Regions from separate parts of the Homo sapiens genome. Here all the other regions are linked to region 2. Evidence: promoter capture Hi-C in human tissues and cell types (Jung and others, 2019). All regions are on one chromosome and are shown on one strand. The core of a region is centred on a gene start or on the middle of the fragment in contact, and the rest is flanking DNA. Distances in the headings are between cores, read along the strand shown.

Region 1 (4,065 bases), core at 537-3,036, 85 kb before region 2:
GACTGACTTTAAAAACCTAACTACATGCTTATTACAAGAGACCCCTTTTAAATATAAAGACATACCAAGATTCAAAGCAAGGATTCAATAATATGAATACAACACAATACCCCAAATAGATTTTAAAATAAAAACCATTATTAGAGATTTACAGGGACATACAATAATGATAAAATAATCCACCAATATATGATAATTTAAAAGTTTATTTTTTCCAAAATTAATGTGCATGAAGAAAGGGACTTGACTGATTCTAGGGCTCTGTTAGACCTAGAATTAGATCTGCAAAATCTAAAATACCTATAGCAATTAAAATACCTATAGCAATCAAAACACACCATCCTTTGGAGGCAAATAAATGAACAGCACTAATAAAGCCAAAGCTACAGAAATATTAATCTTCACAAAGTAAACATGACCCTGACTTGAGAACCTGACAATTGTTCTTTCCTGCTGTCAGCTACAGCTACAGGCACTGGTGACTTGCAGAAGCAAACTATTAGCCACAGAGTATAGGAATGTGAACAAGCAACTCAAGGCAACTCAGTTTCCAGAGTTAGTAAAACCCTTCCAAAAATTCTAGTCATGGTTCTCATTTCCCAAGCACCTATTATACACCAGGCAATTTTCCTGATCACATTTACATGATCTCTTTTAATTCTCTCAACCACGCTGGGAGATAGAAGGATCTGTCCTGTATTTCCTCAAAGGCCGACTAAACACAGATTTAAGTCTGAGCAAAGTCTAGACACCAAGAAAACGTGAAATCATTCCTGTTTGGTGAACTTATCCTGTTCTGCCATGAGGATCTAAAAAGAAGCTTTTCAAATGTCAGCGCACTCCACCAATTGATGGATGGATAAAGAAAATGTGGTATGCATATACACTAGAATATTATTCAGCCATAAAAAACAATGAAATCCTGTCATTTGCAGCAACATGGATGGAACTGGAGGTCGTTATGTTAAGTGAAACAAGCCAAGGACAGAAAGACAAATATGGCATGTTCTCAATCACATGTGGGAGCTAAAAAAGTAGATCTCATGAAGATAGAGAGTAGACTGTGATTACTGAAGGCCAGGAAGGGTGGTGGGGAGGATGAAGAGAGGTTGATTAATGGGTACAAATATACAGTTAGAAGGAATAAGAGCTAGTGTTCAATAGAACAGTACGGTGACTATAATTAACAATAGTTTATCACACATTCAAAATAGCCAGAGTATAGAGTAATTTGAATGATGCTAACATAAAGAAAAGATACATATCTAAGGGGATGAAATCCCAATTATGCTGATTTGATCTGTATACATTATATGAACGTATCAAACAGTCACATGCACCCTGAAAATATGTCCATCTATTATGTATCAATAAAAAACAAAACTAAACAAAATTGTAAAAAAAATTTCAGCACAGCGAGTTTTTTGTCTTACGAACCACACCGTTTTATTATTGTATTGGAGGAGACAATGGAGGAGAGAGGCCAGTCTCTGGTGTTTGAGGCTGCTAAAGGTCTTAACCTGGCCCTAATTATATTGCTTAGTTTACAGATACTAGAAATAAAAACAGCTCACAGTTACAGAGCATTTACGCTGAGGCTTAAATCTCTCTGCATGCACTGGCTCGTTTCATCCTATGAAGTAGGTAGAGATAAGGAGACAGGTTCAGAGACTGACCTGGCTAGTCAGTGGTAGAGTCAGGATTCTCAACCAGGTGATCTGGCTCCAGATCTGTGCTCTTAACCACAGCTTGCAAATAGCTCTGGATCACAATTTCAACTCAGGGCCCATCCAGCTCTAAAGTCTACTAAGCTACCCAGTCAGAGCACCAGACGTGTTATCTGCTCCAGGGGTTCAAATCCCAGCTATGTCGTTATCAGCGGTGTAACCTTGGGCAAGTTATTTCACTTATCTGAGCCTCAGTTCTATAAGATGGAGAAAATAATACCCTCCCCGCCAGGTTATTCTGAGAAAAATGAGTCAGAGAAGGCACGAGTGAGTGGGTATTCAACAAAGGGCAGCTGAGATTATTTGCATGCACACAGACAAAGGCTTGAAACACACCATTCGTTTCATTCCAGGTAGACACTGGAAACTGTCATCAGGATCACCCGGAAACCACTGGTTCCTATTGTGGTTTGAGGGGCAGAGTTGAGCTCTGCTGCACTTTGGTGGGGAAGGCTTCCTTCACATTCTCCCCACTCTTCCCCACCTCACAATTACCTGAAATTGGAGACCAGCTTATTCTCTATGCAGGGGAAGGAAGAGAGAACTCAGACAGCCTTCAAGGAATCTGGGGTAGGAGAAAGACTTAGCTTCCCTTTCACGAAGGCAGGGAAGGGAAAGGAAGGAAAAGCATGGAATTCATTTACAAAAAAAAAAAATTCTTTCTTTGTTGCATTGTTGCAAAACCCTGATAGCCTGGCTACTTCAGAAGACAGCCTGAAGGAGCGGGAAGAAAGAGGCATTCAGGAACACCCTCCCTCTGGCCCCCTTGGCCTGCTGCTGCCTGCGGCTTGTGCCATTTGTTACCCTTGTCACCACCCCTGTCCCTGGGGACTGGGAAGAAGTGGGGGAGCCCGAGAGATGACAGCTGGAGGGTGGGGGCAGGGGCAGCTTCAAAGGCTGGGAGGGATCAAAAGCAGATGGAGGGTCCCAGGCGGGTGGGCCGCTCACCTTTCCACACCCCCGTGAGTACACCAGCTACCTTGGCTGAGGATGGTGGCCCTGTCTGTCAGATGCAGAGGACAGATGGCCAGTCGGCTAAGGGGACTTTGGAGAGGGTCACTCCCAGCATCCTTCACGGGCTGAGAAATCAAAGCCTGCTGACTTCAATCACAGGCTTCTGGACAGACAGCAGCTGTGGCCCAAACCTGGACGTCTCTGACAGCCTCCACCAGCCTCATTCAATTTCCATTCAAAATACATCTGTGAATCACAAACCATCTTGGCTTCCCCCATTTCGGGGGCAGTTGCTCAAACCAAAAGCTCAGGATTGCTCTTACTTCTCCCTCTCCTTCAATGCTCACGTCCAATCCATCTCCAGGCCTTATAAAGTTCACCTCCATGGCCATCGCCCAGGTCCAAGCCACCATCCTCTCTGCCCAGGAAGACCACGGCAGCCCCCCTGCCCACCTCCCTGGGGCCACCGGGGCCTCCCTCCAGTTTGTTCTCTGTGCAGCAAATGACAGCATAAATCTGAACCTGCCCGCCTCACCTCATCCTTGCTTATAACCTCTGACGGCTTTCCATTGCTCTTAAGATAAAGCAAAGAGTTCCGAACACAGCCTTGATCTGGCTTCTCCTTGTCCAATATCTGATTCCAGCACGCTGGCCTTTCTCTCGCTCCACACTCCCTCTTGCCACAGGGCCTTTGTACATGCTGTTCCCTCTGCCTGGAACTCCAGTCCCTCCTGCTCACCCTGCAGAGGCCTCAGTTCCGGCAGGATTTCCCCAGGCTCTCCCTGAGTAAGCGATTTCCCTCCTGCAGCTTTCACAGGCCCATGGCCCTCTATCACACACACCAGTCACTGTAACAGTTTTTACAGGTGTTTGTGAGTTATTTAATTTCCCTAGGTCTCCCCATGACTCTCAGTCCACGTGGCTTGGCTGGGACTGACCCTACTAACAAGCTCTGAGCCTGGCAATTAGCATCTCCCATTCCTCGGTCTACAGTGATTGGCTCCAGGGTGGTGGTCACGTGAGCCACCTGGGGCCAACGGGAGGCCCAAGATGAACTGCTGGAGAAGAGACGTTCTCTCCTGCTGCACACAAGCCCTGGAAGATGCCTACCTGGAGCCGTGGGCAGACCCTTGCCTGCGGGACTGCAGACTGCCTTTTGTTTTGATACAGGTATATCACGCCCCAGGTGTTCAGTGTGAAAAATTAGAGTAGGAATCAGCTGTGGGTCCAGCCAGTGAAATTCAGGTGCTGTTGTCACTTCAACAACTTTGGGGAAGAACTCCACAAGCCACAAGGAAGTGATCACAAATCCCTCCTCCTGTCCACACCTCCATCCTCCCCTACCCTGTCTCCCTTAACATGGGGAAGTGTCATTGAATAGAAG
Region 2 (3,914 bases), core at 95-2,594:
TTCTTACATGATGTTTGTAAATCATCCTCCTGCCCCTCCGCCCTCGCTAACAGCTAGATTCCAATGTTCAGCTCTTCCACTGCACCTCGTAATTAAAAGGTACCTCTTACCGGGGTGATTTATACCTCCACGTTATATTTTAAAAAGTAATTGAAGATTACATAGCATTTCGGGGAAGGGGAAAGAAAAGAAAAGGGTATCCATAAAAACGCAGCATCGGTCTTGCTTTTTAAAAAGAATTCAGACCGCGGCAGGGTGCACGCTGTCAACTCTCAGCCTCGGCTTCGGGGAAGCAGGAACCTCGCACTGCAAAAGGCGCTTCCAGTTCAACAGCTGAGAAAAGCGCACTGAGTCTTTTGCGATAGGAGTACGTTCACCAGTCACGCTTTCCTAGTATTCCTTGAGCTTATAAACTATTTATTGCTGGGGGGGAGGCAGGCAGGAATATATTGAAGGAGCCTGGGCCAGCACGGCCGTTTAACCTCCAGACTTCATGACTAAAAAACAATTCCATTTCCCACTTTCTCCCATTACAACGAAATCCTTGCCGCCTTCTAAACACCCTTCGGATGTAAACTTTTCTAAGTTTCAACTCTACCCGCAGCAGGCGCCAGGATTCCCTGCCCCGGTTCAAAGCCCCAGACCTGAACCAGAGCGGGCCGAGCGCAAACGGACTTTTGAAAAGAAATATATCAATAGCTAGAAGGCAAAGTCTCAGCGGGCCGTTCCAGCCCCAAGCCGGGATTCCAGCGGTTGGCTCTGCTTCTTGGTTATCCCATAAACACTACCTGAGGGCTTGAGTTTGCGGACTGGGGGAGCGCCCCTTATCGCGAACCGCCGGGACCATAATCGAACAAAACGCCAAGGACCCAGCCGCGTCTACACCGCCTGCGCGCCATGCACTTGTCCCGCGCGCGGGAGAGCAAACTTCAGGGTCGTTGCCCCAAAGCGCATGGGGAAACTGGGGCCCCGAGCCTGGGAGAGCCTTTCCAGAGGGGGGCTCTGCTGCTGTCCCCTCTGCCCTTGTGCCTTCCTGGCCCTGGGAGGCCCGTGCGCCCCAGAACGTCCCGACAGCTGCGGAGGCCCCGCTTGGCGAGTGCCAGAAAGAGGCGCAGGGCGAGGGGGTCCCGGTGAACAACTCCCCCCGCCCGGCGAATCCCGGCGGGCGGCCTGGGGTGGGCGCCGCTGGCGGTACTCACCGCGCGCAGTGGAGAGGGCGCCCCGACGCGGTGCGGGCGGGCGGGCGGGCCGGTGCGGGTCCGACGAGGCCGGGCTGACTGCGGCGGGCACGTTGCTGTCTCTGCCGTTGCCGCTGCCTCCGCCTCCTGGGCTGCCGCGGCTGCTGCCTGCGCCGGGAGGACCGGCCCCTTCTCCTCCCTGGGCCGGGCCCTCCCTCTGCCCCCGCCCGGGTCCCCGCGCCGCTGCGTGGGCGCGTGGGGGCGCCGAGGCGCGACGCTGGGCTACGCGGGCGCACACACCCGGCGGCTGGACGCAGGGCGCGGGGCTCTGGCCCAGCACGTGCCGCCGCGCCGCTTCCTGAGCCTGCAGCCGAGCAGAGCGCGCTCACTCTCGCCGGTCCTGGAGGCCAGGGCCCAGCCTCCTCCCCACCCACCGACACCCCGCACCTCCTCCCTCCCCGGGGCAGCACATCCTCCCTGCAACCCAGGCATGACCCCTGTGAAAGGAACGACGGCTCGGAGAGGACCTCAATAGTGACACTAACATTCGTTCACTCAACCACCCATTCATTCATTCAAAATATATTGAGCATCTACTGTGCCAGGTACCACTCCTGAGAGACTCAGCTAGAACAAGACAGACTAGTTTTCTGCCCTCCCGGAACTTGCATTCACATGGAGAGGCAAACCATAAACAAATAACCAAGTAAAGAAGCAAGACAGTTTCAGAAAGTTAGAGTTACAGGGAGAAAAATAATATATGTATCTGCTGTTGGGGAGTGGAGGAGAGGCGGTAATTTTAGCTAGAGCAGTCAGGGAAGACCTCTCTGAGGAGGTGACATCTGAATTATGAGGAAGTGCCATTGGTGTGGTATTTAGGTGAGAACGGTTCAGGGGTCTCCCCTATGTTTCACCCATTTTACAGCTAAGGAAACTGAGGTCTCAAGAGCTTAACTGGTTTAGTGAAAGTGAGAGGTATAGCCCCCTCCACCTACATGCCCAAATCAAGGCACCCCACTTACTCCATCCTCTCATAGCCACCCCCCTTTTAGTCTCCCTGGCAATGAACTGTGTTAATTGGAGTCTATGCAGCCTTTCCTAGCCCGTCACCCACTCTCTAATGTCTATGAATTCCACCGTGGGACACCCAGGATGCTTCAATCCAAAAGCAATATCAACCACTGTCATTTCTTAAGTGCAGTAAAAGACAGGGCACCCAGGTGAATTTGAATTTCAGAGAAACGAGGAATCAGTTGCAGTATATGTCTTATGCGATTGGTTGTACGTACTTATATTTAAAAAGTATTTCTTTTGTCTCCGAAATTCCAATGTAACCGGGGGTCCTATATTTTTATTTGCAACCTTAAGCTCATCCAATGCCCAACTCTTCCTTATCTCATGTAATCCCCAAGAGAGACCCCAAGGTAGCTGCTGTCAGCACACTCATTTCACAAATGAGCAGGTCCAAGCTCAAAGAAGGCAGAAAGTGGCTGAGCCAGGAATGAAATTCAGGCCTGGCTGACTCCAAAGCCGTTGCTCTTGAGCCGTAACAGTCTTCAATTCCAGTTGTAAGTTTACAGGAGCTGATGAAGGTTAAGTTCTTGGGCCCCTGACTTGCTTGGACCCCTTTCTAAGGGGACTTAGAAAAGTGTTCAGATGGTGGCTTGTTGATGTAAAGTTTACAAAAGTCCTTTGCTTTGGACATTTGGCTGCAGGCCGTAGACACCGCTGTCTTTCCACTCCGATTCCCCACCCCCAACTTGCCCTTGAGTAGGGTGGTGTCAGGTGGCTGCTGGCATTTTGGAGGAAAGTTGAGTTGGGAATTTTGTGATGTTTGTGGTAATTTTCAGCTTCTTAAAATTTGAATTTGTTGTGATTTCTTTTCTTAATTTAAAGAAATAATCATTTTCTTATCTAATCTTGGACTCATAATTTTGTACTCTTTTTCTTGAATAGGGGCTGCAAATTATACATGTATCAGGCCTCACCATTCCCAGACCCACCTCTGGTCATAGCTTACTCCGCTTTCTACTCCCCAAACTTCAGACAGAAGCAAATGTATTCAGTAAACATGGTTGTTCTCTTCTCTGGGCCTGCCGCAGTAGGCTTGGAGATGGCTCTGCTTCTGTCTTCTAGAGGCAGAATGTACATATGTACTTGGCCTTGATTTTCTCATCACTAAAGTGAAAATAACAGTACTCATCTTATACTATTATTGTGAAAATTCATGGAGCTCATGCTCATAAAACACTTTCTACTATGACTGCAGCTGGCACTAGCAATTGCTCAACAAATATTATTACTGTACACACAGCTTCACTTCCCATAGTATCTTTGCTAAGTGCTCCAAGTCATTATAAATTGAGCATCTTAATGACCTTCAGAGGTGTTTAATTTGTCTTGGCCTGTGAACCTTAATTTTTTTTTCCTAAAGGAATAGACTGGAATAGGAAATATCAAGTGAATTGTATGCAGTAAGAATATATATACATACCTATACATATATAGTTACATATATACATATGATCCCCTATATATAGTTAAATGTATACATATGGTCCCCAATTTATGATGGTTTCACTTAATGATTTTTTTGACTTTATGACGATGTGAAAGTGATGTGTATTCAGTAGAAACCACAATTGAGATACCCATACAACCATTCTATTTTTCACTTTCAGCAAAATATTTGATAAATTTCATGAGATATTCAAAACTGTATTATAAAATAGGCTT
Region 3 (4,188 bases), core at 566-3,065, 110 kb before region 2:
GTACAGGTAAATGTTGATGAGATTCCCCAATCTGTATCTGATTCCATTTTGGTTACATCACTTTTGCTAAAGCCTGTTTGCTTCCAGAGTTCCTCTTCCACCTGAGGCCTCACAGCAGGTGAATGCAAAAGTTTATGGAATTATAAACAGATGTCCCTATGCCCTTCTTTCTTTTAGACTACTGCCACGATAAAGGGTTATTTGGGGGAACCTGCTGCAAAATGCATAAGAAACTCATTTGAGCTGGAGATGTCAGCCCCAGTCCTGGAAGGTGTCTCATCCATCAATATGGACTAGCTCTCCGGGGGCAGAGACTGCATCTCATCCATCTCTGAGTTTCTAGGGCTCAGTGTGGGGTTAGGTACTGAGGAGTGATGTGTGAATGGTAGAGGAGGAAGAAAGGATGCATGCACGCATATGTTCATTGCAGCACAATTTACAACAGCCAAGACATGGAATCATCCCAAATGCCCATCAATGATAGACTGGGTAAAGAAATTGTGGTACAGATACACCATAGAATACTATGCAGCCATAAAAAGGAACAAGATCATGTCCTTTGCAGGGATACAGATGAAGCTGGAAACCCTTATCCTCAGCAAACTAATGCAGGAACAGAAAACCAAACACTGCATGTTCTCACTTACAAGTGAGAGCTGAACAATGAGAACACATGGACACAGGGAGGGGTACAACACACACTGTGGCCTGTTAGGGAAGGGTAGGGGAGAGGGAGAGCATCAGGAAGAATAGCTAATGCATGTCGAATTTAATACCTAGGTGATGGGTTGACAGGTGCAGCAAACCACCATGGCACATGTTTACCTATGTAACAAACCTGCATGTTCTGCATGTGTATACTGGAACTTAAAATAAAGTAAAGAAATGATGAAAGGAGGGAGGGGAAAAGGGAGAGAGAGGTGGAGAGAAAAGGATGGGGGACGAAAGGGGAGGGAAGAGAGGAAGGGAAAGAGAAAAAGGGAGAGAAAAATAAGGATAGAAAGAAGGGAGCCTGTAATCCCAGCTACTTGGGAGGCTGAGGCAGAATTACTTGAACCTGGGAGGCAGAGGTTGCAGTGAGCTGAGATCACGCCACTGCACTCCAGCCTGGGTGACAGAGCAAGACTCTGTCTCGGAGAAAAAAAAAATAGAAGGGAGATTGAAAAGAAGGGAAAGGAAAGGAATGAGGAAAGGAGAAAGAAAGACAGTGGCAAAAAGGGAGGGAAAAATTAAGAAATTCCCTATGCATGGGAAAGCAGAGGAAGGGGAGAAAGAAAAGAATAAAAAAAAAAAAAAGAATGAAGAGAAGAAAGAAGAAAATAATAGCTAAGACTCTGAGGACACTCTGCTCCAGGCCCCATTCTAAGTGTGTTTTACCTGCTTTTGCTGGTTTCGTGGGGGCAGGCAGCATGACTGTCCCCCGCTCCCAGATGGGAGGGCTCAGGCCCAGGGAGGTGGAGTGACTTGCTCAAGCTCACTCAGCTAGGAAGTGCTACGGCTGGGATTCCTATCCAGGGAATCTGGCTCCAGGGCCCTCTCTCTTAACCTCTACCTTCCAAGAAAGAAGAAAAGGTGGGCATGTGAGCAGGAGACAAGTGAATGGCACTCACCTGGAGAAGAGCTGGGACACTCTCAGGGGGGCCGATTTGGTGATGCCTGCAGGAGAAAAAGAAAAATTGGAAGAGTTTTAGCGATTAGGGTGATGTTCTGCAGAGGTGGTGACTTCAGACACCACTTAAGCAGGAGCAGACTTGGAGGGGTGCTGCCCGCGGCTTTCTCCACCACAGATGCTTATCTGAGGCGCCACATCTCAGCACTCTTCTTCTTGAGGAGTTCGGAGCCCTTTCTGGGTGCACTTCGTCTCTGTGCAGTTAAGGAAAAATGACATCTAAAGAATCCATAGCACCTTGAAACATCAGAGTAGAGTCCATTTCTCCATCCATTGTACAGATGGAGAAACTGAGGCCAAAGAGACAGAAAGAATGTGCTTGAGCCAAGTCACATGACCAGGCAGCAGCACAACTAGGAAGTGAATCAAGCTGGTGCCATTTCCACTCCTGGATGGAAAACCGCTCCCTTCCCTGCCTCAAAAGCAATCCCCAAGAACCCCAGAATGGCAGACACAGGCTGGCTTTGCTCATCCAACCTCCATTTCCCTTCTTCTAATGACATGGCTTTGATGTTCCTCCCCTGCCTCCTCACTTCCAGTCCATGGAGTGCAGGTGCAGCTGGCCCCAACACTTTAGGGGAAGGAACCACTTCGATCATCTCCTAAGCTCCATCTAGGGTGGTGGAGCAGAGAGATGGATGACACCTGGGCTCCTGATGCAAGTACCTAACACCCAATCACTCAGCACACAATGTCCAATCATTGATGGGAGGCGATATGCAGGGGGTGACGAAAAGGTGACAGAGTTAAGCTGGGAGAGACGTTTGCCCGGGGATAATTTTACATAGGGACAGTTCACTGGGAAGTACTTTTGTGCTCCGTCATCTTGAACAATGCAACTCAATGTCCTCACTGCAGAGTCCTGGACAAATTCTAGATAATGTGTCTACTGATGGGAACAGCGTCAACCTGCCAATGCCCACTCCCTGTTCTGTAGGGCAGTGGCTGCGTCATCATCACAACCTAAGGCTGTGGAGCTCTGAGCCTGCCTCAGCCTCTGCGCTGGAGGCTCAGGAGACCAACGTGCACTTGCAACTCTGCCACTTCCTAGTTATGAGACTTCAGGCAAGTTCCTAGATCTCTGGGCCTCAGGGCTCCCCCCTGTGCAATGAGGATGAAAATACTTATCTTGCAAGGACAGGAAAGGATTAAATGAGATGATGCTGATAGCCATCATTTACCCAGTGCTTATTACGTGCCAAGCTCTCTTCTAAATTCTTTACCTGGATTAATTATTTTAATCCTCATAAGTACCCTGTGAGAAAGGTTCTATTCTCATCCTCAGATGAACAGCTGTAGGCACAGAGAGCTTAAGTAACTCACCCAGGGCCACACAGGAAGTACGGTGTGGATCTGTGATCTGAACCCAGGTGGTCTGGCTCCAGAGTCTGTCTTCTCAACCATGACACTACAGCTGACGATGACAGTCATTGTCATAAGAGCAGCTGGCATTCACTTAGAGGTTGACTATGTGCCAGGCCCTTGTTAACTGCTTATAGACAGGCTCTCATTGAGTCCTCACAACAGCGCTCTGAGCACGCGATGCCATTAACCCCGTTGTACAGATGAAGAAACCGGGGCTCCGAAGGTCAAGTGCCTTGTTCAAGTCACACAACCGTGGGCAAGGGAACTGGGACTTGAACCCAAAAGCTGTGTGAGTCCAAGGTCAACACTCTTAATGCCCTCCCCCTGGCTGAGCCAAATTCTGTTCAAGTCCCAAACCACTGGGGTTGGGGCGGGGGTGGTGGTCTTGAAGTTCATTTAGAGAGTCATAACTGGAATTAAGAAAAGGAGAATTGCCTATTTTATGATATACGATGGCAGCAGGTATTGCCCATAGTAAGAAGGAATTGTGTAACCCTTTTGTTGCAGGTCCAGGTGTGAGAATGTGTTGTGTGTGCATGCACGTGCATTCAACAATGCAGAAATATATTTCGCATCATGTATCACATTCAAAGAAAAGGATGGAACAACAGTAGCCGAATGTCAAGGAAAGCCCCTGGCACACAGTAGGTGCTCACTCAATGCTGATTTCCCTACCCTGGGTTTGCTCCTAGGCGGGGTGTCCTGTACCCCATCACTCCTTCTTCATCCTCCCACAGGGCTCAAGAATGAACTGTCTCATTCTGAAGCAGCCACAATCTCATTCCTCGTAAAAGCCCATGACTTGAGTGCATTTAGTACTGCATAAGTTACTGAATTAAACACTTTAAATGTTTTCTTTCATAAATATGTATATATTCATAAAAATCTAAATCTATGGGAACAACATTCCTATGGGCTCGAATTAACTTGGCATTCCATAAATTGGAGGCAAGCGTCTTTTCTGCCAATCTCCATGGCATGATTTGCATGTTTGCCTCACCCAGCTCCTTTTCAAGCTTCCACCCAGTTCCTCTGAATTGAGCAACCTGCCTTCCCCAGCAGACAGGTTCCCCTCCCCCACTACGCAGACCTGTAAATACTCTCCCTTTCCCACCCCAGCAACCTCAGGAAGACTGTGCAAGCGAGAAACAGGC

What was found. The method cuts DNA at HindIII sites, captures the fragments that hold promoters and counts their contacts. A contact is called where the count stands out against the background at its distance.
Region 1: a contact is called between a fragment that was not itself captured here and the fragment with the promoter of EYA2 in region 2, in 2 of the 25 tissues and cell types used here (H1 embryonic stem cells and bladder).
Region 3: a contact is called between a fragment that was not itself captured here and the fragment with the promoter of EYA2 in region 2, in 3 of the 25 tissues and cell types used here (IMR-90 fibroblasts, liver and stomach).

What each region holds. Positions count from the first base shown.
Region 1 is chr20:46,977,788-46,981,852 of GRCh38, reverse strand. The region is part of intron 1 of EYA2 (EYA transcriptional coactivator and phosphatase 2); the gene reads right to left. Among named protein-coding and RNA genes, the nearest start is that of EYA2-AS1, 78 kb to the right of the region's middle. The HindIII fragment of the contact is 7,567 bases long and covers 1-4,065 here.
Region 2 is chr20:46,892,273-46,896,186 of GRCh38, reverse strand. It overlaps EYA2 (EYA transcriptional coactivator and phosphatase 2), which reads right to left and starts at 1,344. Exons shown (of 16, transcript NM_005244.5): 1 at 1,200-1,344. The HindIII fragment of the contact is 22,949 bases long and covers 1-3,914 here.
Region 3 is chr20:46,998,896-47,003,083 of GRCh38, reverse strand. EYA2 (EYA transcriptional coactivator and phosphatase 2) reads right to left here. Exons shown (of 16, transcript NM_005244.5): 3 at 1,611-1,656. Among named protein-coding and RNA genes, the nearest start is that of EYA2-AS1, 99 kb to the right of the region's middle. The HindIII fragment of the contact is 6,946 bases long and covers 1-4,188 here.